2 separate regions of the Homo sapiens genome follow, and region 1 is linked to region 2. The links are contacts of gene promoters, found by promoter capture Hi-C in blood cells and fetal thymus (Javierre and others, 2016). All regions are on one chromosome and are shown on one strand. Each heading gives the region's core, a stretch centred on a gene start or on the middle of the fragment in contact. The rest is flanking DNA. Distances are from core to core; before and after follow the strand shown.

Region 1 (4,531 bases), core at 1,792-4,291, 400 kb after region 2:
TCTTCTCTGGGTTTTCTGAACATTCCACGTGCATTCCTGCTTCTCTAACTTTGCTCTTACCACCTTTCATGCCTCTATTGTGCCATCAACCCTCTCCCCAGCCCCTGGAACCTGCCCCAGCGCCTGTGTATTTGATCAGTGGTGATACAGCACTCACTTGAAAAAGTATTGAGCACCTATTATGTGCTGTGTGGAATATTAGGGTGCATTCTTTATATAAATATTTTATTCCCAGCTTCCCTTTCTCATCTTTCCACTAGATTATTATTATTATCTTGGGCCATGACTGGGCAGGCAATGCCGTACAGTCACCAAACCCTGTTTCATTTCCTCCTGGGCACACAGAGAGACCTCATTCCCACAACTCCCTCCAAGTAAGCGGTGCCTGTGGCTGTGATCTGGCTGATGGAATTTGGGCAGAAGCAATGAGCACCACTTTCAGGCATACCCCCTAAAACCCCTTACAAGATCCTCCACCCTTTTTTTTTTTTTTTTTTTGGGAGATGGAGTTTCACTCTTGTTGCCCAGGCTGGAGTACAGCGGCGTGACCTCGGCTCACTGCAACCTCCGCCTCCCGAGTTCAGGTGATTCTCCTGCCTCAGCCTCCCGAGTAGCTGGGATTACAGGCGCCCACCATGATGTCAGGCTTATTTTTGTATTTGTAGTAGAGACAGGATTTCACCATGTTGGCCAGGTTGGTCTCGAACTCCTGGCTTCCAGTGATCCACCCACCTCTGCCTCCCAAAGTGCTGAGATTTCAGGCGTGAGCCACCTTGCCCAGCCCACCCTCATTTCTTTCTCCAGCGGTTTGCCTGCTGGATGCAGAGGGATGGGGGTTTTGGAAGTCCTTGGGGAGGGAGCCTGAGTGCCTGAATCACTGGGTGCAGGAGAGCCCTCTTCTCAGCTTACATTGGACTGGGAGATAAATGAGAACGAAATCTTTTGAGCCATGGCTAAGGACACATCATGAGATTTGGGGGCTGTTTGTTACAGCAGCTAGTATGCTAACACACCAGTGTAGGCAGCCATATTTGTATTTCTGCCCTCACCCAAGCCTGGTACATAAGAAGCCCTTAGTAGTCCTCCTCATCTCCCATGAGGCTTTCTTCTCATCCACCCTTCAAATGCAGGCCTGACCCTGTCGTCCCCTCTAGGAAGTTTTCTTCCCCACCTCCTCTTCTTCTTCCCAATTCTGAAATGCTGCTGACCCCCGCAAGGGTCCTTCTCTTCCTCCCTCACATCCTCCCCAGGTGACGTCTGCTGCCTCCTCTACGCTGGCACTTCCTATAGCTTAGACTGTAACCCTCAGCCCGATGGGGTAAACTGAGGCTTCTCCAAATTGCCAGATAAATTCAGGATGTTTTGTGATGCAACTCTGGAAGGGGAACCCAATCCTGTGTTAGCAGAATAAGGATGGGGCATTGATTCCCAAGAAATGAGTCCAACTCACGCTAATGGGAAGAATAGCAATATCTCCTGAGGACCAAATGGGCTTTTTTTTTTCTTTTTTCTTTCTTTTTTTTTTTTTTTTTTTTTTTTTTGAGACAGAGTCTTGCTTTCTTGCCCAGGCTGGAGTGCAGTGGTGTGATCTTGGCTCACTGCAACCTCCGCCTTCCAGGTTCAAGCAATTCTCCTGCCTCAGCCTCCCAAGTAGCTGAGACTACAGGCACCCGCCACCACACCCGGCTAATTTTTTTTTTTTTTTTTTTTGTATTTTTAGTAGAGATGGGTTTTCACTGTGTTAGCCAGGATGGTTTCAATCTCCTGACCTCGTGATCCACCCGCCTCGGCCTCCCAAAGTGCTGGGATTACAGGCATGAACCACAAATGGGCTTTTAAGGAAGAAATGGCTCTGCTGTGGGTTGTGTTTGATTTGAGAGAGACCAGAGAAAACCTAATTGCAGCCCAGGGTGACCGTGGTTTCATTTTCCCTCTCTGCTTCTCCTGCCCCCTCCCTGGGGGGCCCTCCCTGGAGCAGAGCTGACTCTGACGCCTCCTTCCTGGGGGAGCTGGGGTTTGATTGTTTTTCAAGGGAATGGTGGGAGGTGTTGGGACAGGGATGGGCGGTGCCTGGGGAGAGAGAATGTGTGTGGCTGCAGAATGCTGGGGAGGGAACAAGGAAGGAGAGGACCTGGCCTGGAGACTGCCCAGACGGGCGCCTGAGCTCCCCAGCTTCCCCTAAGGAGTAAGGTCTCCTTTCCCATGTCCTGCCACCCAGAAGTAACCACACCCATGCCCTCTCTACGCCCCTTGTGCAGCCTTCAGGGTAGACCGAGGAGAGCACCTCCCCTTCCTGGTGAAGGGAGCCCGATACACGCTGGTGCCGGCTGGCCAAGAAGGAGGTGGACAAACCTGGCGACCGCTCCCTGGCACCACCTCACCAGAGGACAGCTCACACCTCCACAGGGGTCAGAAGAAAGGAGCTGCCCTGGGGATGGCTGTGTATCCCTACAACTGCCAGGCACATGCCCCTTGAACACCCGATGCTACGTGTCCCAAAGGAAACTGGTCTCCACCCACCCCCGGCCCGTCCTCGTCCTGGGTACCCCACCTTAGTAAATGGCGCCACCATCTGCCCGGTCACTCAGCGAGAAACTCAACTCCTGGCAGCAGATGACGGGCACTCTGGTTAAATGACTCTCTCCAGCCTCCAAGTTCAACCTGCAGGGAAGCCCTGGAAATCCTGTCTCCCTCTGCCCTGCCTCTCCTTCAGCTCCGAACCCCACCCCACTCAGTACATGGCCCCCCAACAGGCTTTCAAATGTCTGCCTTCCCCAAACCAATCTGTGGTTTTAAAAGAAGTAAGGTCAGGTACAGTAGCTCATGCCTGTAATCCCAGCACTTTGGGAGGCCGAGGCAGGCGGATCACCTGAGGTCAGGAGTTTGAGACCAGTCTGGCCAACATGGCGAAACCCCGTCTCTACTAAAAATAAAAATAAAAAATTAGCCTGGGTGTGGCGGTATGTGTCTGTAGTCCCAGCTACTCCGGAGGCTGAGGTAGGAGAATTGCTTGAACCCGGGAGGCAGAGGTTGCAGTGAGCCAAGATCACACCACTGTACTCCAGCCTGGGTGACAGATTGAGACTCCGCCTCAAAAAAAAAAAATCAGGACAGTGGTTGTCTCTGGCAGGTGAGGGGGCCAGGATTGACTGGGGAGGGGCGTGCAGGAACTTTGGGTGATGACAATGTTCTCTAACTTAATACAGTTTGAGCTACACAAGTGAGTGTAGTTGTCAAATCTCAGCAAATGTATATTTAAGACATGTGCAATTAAATGTAAATTTTACATCTTACAGCAAAACAGAAAATGCAAAGAAATTTTGAACTCTTGTTCATGTCATGTATTGTGGAGTTTCTGCAGGGAATCAGATAGATGTCTGCAATTTAAAATGCCACAAAACAAGAAGAATGGATGGGTGCGTAGAGGGAGAGAGAAGCATGATTAAATTCATTTAGTAAAATGCCAGTGGTAGAGTTTAGGTGGTTTTCAGTGTGAGATTCTTCCCACTTTGCTGCATGTATGAAAATTTTTATAATAAAATGTTAGGGAGAAATGCCTCCTGGCTCCAGACGTGTCCCCTCCATTATGTTAATCACATCTGCAATTAGTGTGATGTTTCTAGGACAGCAAATCAGACCATGGCTCTCCCTTGCTCGGAAACCCTTCTGTGGCTCTCCCTGGGGACACGCCCCCACGTCTGTGGCTCCCAAGGCTGTCCATGCCTGGCCTCTGTTTATTTCTGTAATCATCACTCTCCCCTTCACTTTTTCCACCACGGAAACACCAAAATATTTATGCGTCCTGCATAGCATGCTATTTTATGTCTCCTATGATAGAAATCGCTCATTTTCATCTAATATACCTTCCCCACTTCTTTCTAAGTAGTAGAAACTCCAATTTTTATCTGGTGATGTGGCCATGTAGAAATAAAGACTACATATCCCAGCCTCCTCTGCAGTGAGGTACGGCCATTGGATGCGCAGCAAGATAAAGTATTAATTACAACTTCTGGAAAGTGTTCTTTAAGATAGGGGCACAACCTTCTTCACCCCTTTCTCCTTCCTGCTGGTTGGAATGAGGGCACGATGGCTGGAGCTCAAGCAGCCATCTTGGATGAGGAGGTGAAGGCCATATGTGTAACATGACAGAGCACTAAGGTAGATTGAAGCTGGGTCCCCGAGACTGTGGTGTGCCATGTCAGCTCTGAATCCCCTGCCTCTAGACTTCTATATGAAAGAGAAATTAATACTCTCTTGCTGAAGCCATGTTATTTTGAGTTTTCTGTTACCAACAACCAAACCTAGTCCTAACACACCAACTTCTATGTCCTTGAATGTTTTGATCCTTGTACTTGGAATGTCTTTTCCTCACTTTGCTCCTAACAAACTCCCATTGATCCTTCAAAACCTTGCTCGGACATCACCTTCTCAGTTACATGTTAATTCCTTGGTGGAATTAATGTTTCCCTACTCCATGATTTCTCTCTACCTTATATCACAGTGTGCAATTATTGAGCACTTACTATGTATC
Region 2 (4,240 bases), core at 141-2,640:
TAGTTGGTGGCGCACACCTGTAGTCCCAGCTACTGGGGAGGCTGAGGCAGGAGAATCGCTTGAACCCAGGAGGCAGAGGTTGCAGTCAGCCGAGATCGCGCCACTGCACTTAAGCCTGGGCGACAGAGCGAGACTCTGTCTCAAAAAAAAAAAAAAAAAAAAAAAAAAAAATGCCTTCAGTCACTGACAAATGTGGGAGTGGAGGTGGTGGAATGGCAAAATTTCTCCTTGGTTGAAAGCCACTGATCCAAACCATCTCATTTTACAAATGATGGAGCTGAGGTCCAAAGAGATGAAGTAACTTGTTTAAGCTAGTTAGCAAAGCCAAGATTAGAATCCAGGTTATTCACGCAATATCCTTTTATTTCTATAACGTACAGGGCACGATATGGAACTCAGAGGAAGTCACTGCAGTCCTTGTCCTCACAGTCTGGTAGGGGAGAGAATCTATTGCACAGATATCTCTATCTCCACGAAGTTGGTAAGTCATAAAGTGCTCCTCAGGCAGCAAGGTACGAAGAAAGAGAATATGTTCTCGTGTTCTGAATTCCGGATCTGCCACTTTTTTGCTGCAGGATTTAACTAAGGTTCAGTTTCATCATCAATGAAATGGAGATCATGGTATCTACTTATATCACCAGTTTGAAACGGGTCTGTGGATGCATTGTGCAAACTCTAAAGCTCTTACAAACATCGGGTATTATTACTAACTTCATTAGGAATGTGAGTTATATTAGAGTAAAAGCTCTCAGAACTGGGGTGAACCATAGAGGGGTGGCTTCATTCCTCGACCTTCCAATTTGAGACATTTTTTCTTCTGCGGGAGGGGAAGCAGGCAAATAGCCTGCCTCTCACAGAGTGCCCATTCCCTCTCCGGGAACCAAGGTGCTCAGGCGAGTAAACTCAGGACTTAACTCTGTACAACTAGTACCGCAAGCAGGAGCCACTCCCTGGCCTTCGGGTCTCTCAAGCCCCGCCTGCTCCAGGATACGGCCCCGCCCAGAAAGGAGACAGACCCCGCCCCCCCCGCGCTGCCCCGCACTCCAGCCGCGCTGTGCCTCCAGGACAATCCCAGGCCCGTGCCGGAGATTCCCGAGCTTCCCCGATCGCTTCCCGGCCTCCCTCGGGCAGCCAGCGAGGAGACTACGGAGATTGCCGAGGGGGCCTGGCCCCGCCCCCCCCGCGGGCCGCCACCGCCCCCCTCGCCGTAGCCTCCCGCGCGGGCTGGAGTTCTACATCCCGGTCCCTCCCTCCCTCCCTCTTTCTCTCTCCCCGCCTTCCCGGTGCTGCCACAGTGGCGGGTCGGAGGATCCCGGCCAGTCAGCTCGTTCCTGCCTCGCGCCCCTCCTCCCCCCAAAATAAACAGCCCTCCCCACGCCTCGGGAGCCCGGACCGCCCCCTTCCTCCCTCGGCCGGCGTGCTGTGAGGGAGAGTGTGAGCCAGCGCGGCCGGTGGGCGAGCTCCGGGAGTGCGAGAGGCGGGGCGGCGCGGCGGGCCGGGCCGGGTTTCGCGTGTGCGTGCGGGGGCGCGAGCGAGTGCTCATCACGACCCGCCAGTGGCCCCGCGCCGACAACCCGGCGGGCGGGCGGGCGGGGAGCAAGCGGTCAGGCAAGGAGCGGCGGCCGCGAGGCGCGGAGGGGCGCGGAGTCCGCTCGCGCGCACGCACGCACGCACGCGGGGGCGGGGGCAGGCGCGCGCCCGCCTGTCGCGACAGTCGGGGCCGAGGCCCAGGGGGAGGTGGCCTGTCGCGGGTCGCCCGGCTCCCGGAGGCGAGGGGGGCGCGGGCGGATGGCGGAGGGCGCCCAGCCGCATCAGCCGCCTCAGCTCGGGCCCGGCGCCGCCGCCCGGGGCATGAAGCGGGAGTCGGAGCTGGAGCTGCCGGTGCCCGGAGCGGGAGGAGACGGAGCCGATCCCGGCCTGAGCAAGCGGCCGCGCACTGAGGAGGCGGCGGCCGACGGTGGCGGCGGGATGCAGGTGACCGCGCGGGACGGGGCGCCCAGTTATTGCGGGGGTGGGCGTGAGGGTCGACACCGGGCTCCCCGGCTTGGAGAGAGGGAGGGCCTCCGGGAGTCCTGGGTTGGAGGTGGGATGGGGGGCCATTCGGGGCCTGGTTGGAAGGTGGGGCGAGCTCGGGCTAGGAACGAAGGTTGCAGGACTGAACCTGGTGTGCCCGAGAGGGTCCTGATTCCTGAGGGGCCAGGAGGCACGACGAGTGGATAGGTTTTGGGGGGAAATCGAACAAGGTTGAGATGGATTCCATTTTTTCAAATCCTTCCTTAGTGCCTTGGGGTGGAGTGGAAGCCGGGAAATCCTGGCTTCTCTGGACTGAGTCGAGGAAAAGGAGATCTGGTGGGAAACCTCCCGAGAAGAGGGAGTACCTTTTGGCAGCCCTGGGCACACGCTGGGATGGGGAAGAGAAGTGGCATTTCAATGAGAGGAGTGAAAAGAAAACTCCTCGAGAGAGCCCCGAGGGGATGTGGCTGAGATTGTGGGTTAAATCACACAGAGTGTGAGAAGTACAAGGAGTTTGGTAATGTTATGGGGACACGGTGGTGCTCAGTCTCATTTACTTTGTGGAGCATACTAATGAGTCTGAAGGGAGACACTAGACATGTCCCTCCTGTTCTTTGCCAATTGCATTCTACATCACCAGGACACAAAATAGCTCTTTAATGTCCCGGGCTATAAAAAAAATTTTTTTATAGGGCTATTAGAAGACTGGATTCTCAATTCTGGATTGAAAGATAAACGTGGTTAATTTGGGTAGGGAATGGGAAAGGTATTGATGTCAGCTGACTTCATAGTTTTGAAGAAGACCTTGAAACCTTTGGAGGTTTTACGATTTGGTCTTTGCCCAGAAAATACTGCTATGACATGATGAGTCTCACCTACCAACAGTTGTGCAGACTTGTGCCTAATTCTCTCGGAGTCATAGGATGTTAGAGGGATGCTAGGAGGACTAGACATCATCTTTTCCAGGGGTTCTTAACCTGGGAAGACTTGGAAGATTCTTACTCATAGTAGGTGATGTGCACTTTTTGGTGGAGGAGAGTCAATAGTTTTCATCTTTGTTTTTTTTGGAGGAGATTCAAGTCCCAGCTTGTTTTAACCACCTTATTTTATAGATGGGGAATCAGAAGTCCAGAGAAGATGGTGACTTGGGTAAGGCCACCCAGTTAGCTAATAGTAAAACTAGAACTAGAAGCCTGGTCTTCTAATTCCTATTCCTGTGCTGTCTCCATTACACCACTCTTGGAAATCTCTGCAGTGCTAAAAGACTTCCTGTGCTCTGCTCCCTGCTTTTCAAGCCTCTGCCTGACTTCCTGTGTTAGGGACAGAGCTGTACTTAAGCCTAGCATGTTTGTTGTATGCTTCTTGGTCTCCTTTGCAGAGTTTACCCTGTTACTTCTGTTGATTTAGGTAAAGTGACCCTCTTGGTGTTTATTTTTGAATTCTTTTGTTTTGTTTGCCTGCTTTTATTTTCCATTAGAACTCTGTCAGGCAGAGGGATTGTGAGAAGTAAAAGCTCAGGGCCATGGCAAAAAAGACAGGAATGTGGGAGACTTCAGGTGAGGTGAGCTAATATTGGATGATAAGGAGGGAAGACTGGATGTAGGTGCTGGTGAGCAGGTTCTACTTGGTGTGTGTGTGTGTGTGTGTGTGTGTGTGTGTATGTATTCATTTATCATTTCTGTCAATCCTAGTTAATAGTGAGACCCCCGTCCCTTTCCCTCATTTACTCCTGGGGCCTATTATCTGTTGGTTGCCTTCAAACTGGCTAAAGATAGTGATATTTGGAAATGGAGCAGTGTGTAGGGACTTCGCAGGGGTGTGCAGAGGAAAGAGTGGTTAGGTCCTTGGGGGTACAAATTGGCAGCTGAGAGTTATCCCTCCGAGAATCCTTTTTTCACTTCTTGTATTTTATTTTCTTTCTATACATTCTCTTTTTTTTTTTTTTGCCCAGGCTGGAGTGCAATGGCACGATCTCGGCTCACTGCAACCTCCACCTCCACCTCCACCTCTGGGTTCAAGGGATTCTCCTGCCTCAGCTTCCTGAGTAGATGGGATTACAGGCGTCTGCCACCATGCCCAGCTAATTTTTCTTATTTTTAGTAGAGAGGGGGTTTCACCAGGTTGGCCAGGCTGGTCTCGAACTCCTGACCTCAGGTGATTCACCCACCTCAGCCTCCCAAAATGTTGGGATTACAGGTGTGAGCCACCACACCCGGCCTTCTATACA

What was found. Contacts are between HindIII fragments. The CHiCAGO score rates a contact against its expected background, and 5 or more counts as called.
Region 1: a contact is called between a fragment that was not itself captured here and the fragment with the promoter of RBFOX2 in region 2, in 3 of 17 cell types (M0 macrophages, M1 macrophages and activated CD4 T cells). The highest score is 6.3, in M0 macrophages.

Annotation. Positions count from the first base shown.
Region 1 is chr22:35,625,387-35,629,917 of GRCh38, reverse strand. It overlaps LOC284912 (a long non-coding RNA gene), which reads left to right. Exons shown (of 4, transcript XR_001755514.1): 4 at 2,259-2,342. Among named protein-coding and RNA genes, the nearest start is that of MB, 10 kb to the right of the region's middle. The HindIII fragment of the contact is 8,948 bases long and covers 1-4,531 here.
Region 2 is chr22:36,025,974-36,030,213 of GRCh38, reverse strand. RBFOX2 (RNA binding fox-1 homolog 2) reads left to right here and starts at 1,390. Exons shown (of 14, transcript NM_001349999.2): 1 at 1,390-1,974. The coding sequence starts at 1,789. RefSeq lists a silencer at 1,155-1,224. The HindIII fragment of the contact is 7,441 bases long and covers 1-4,240 here.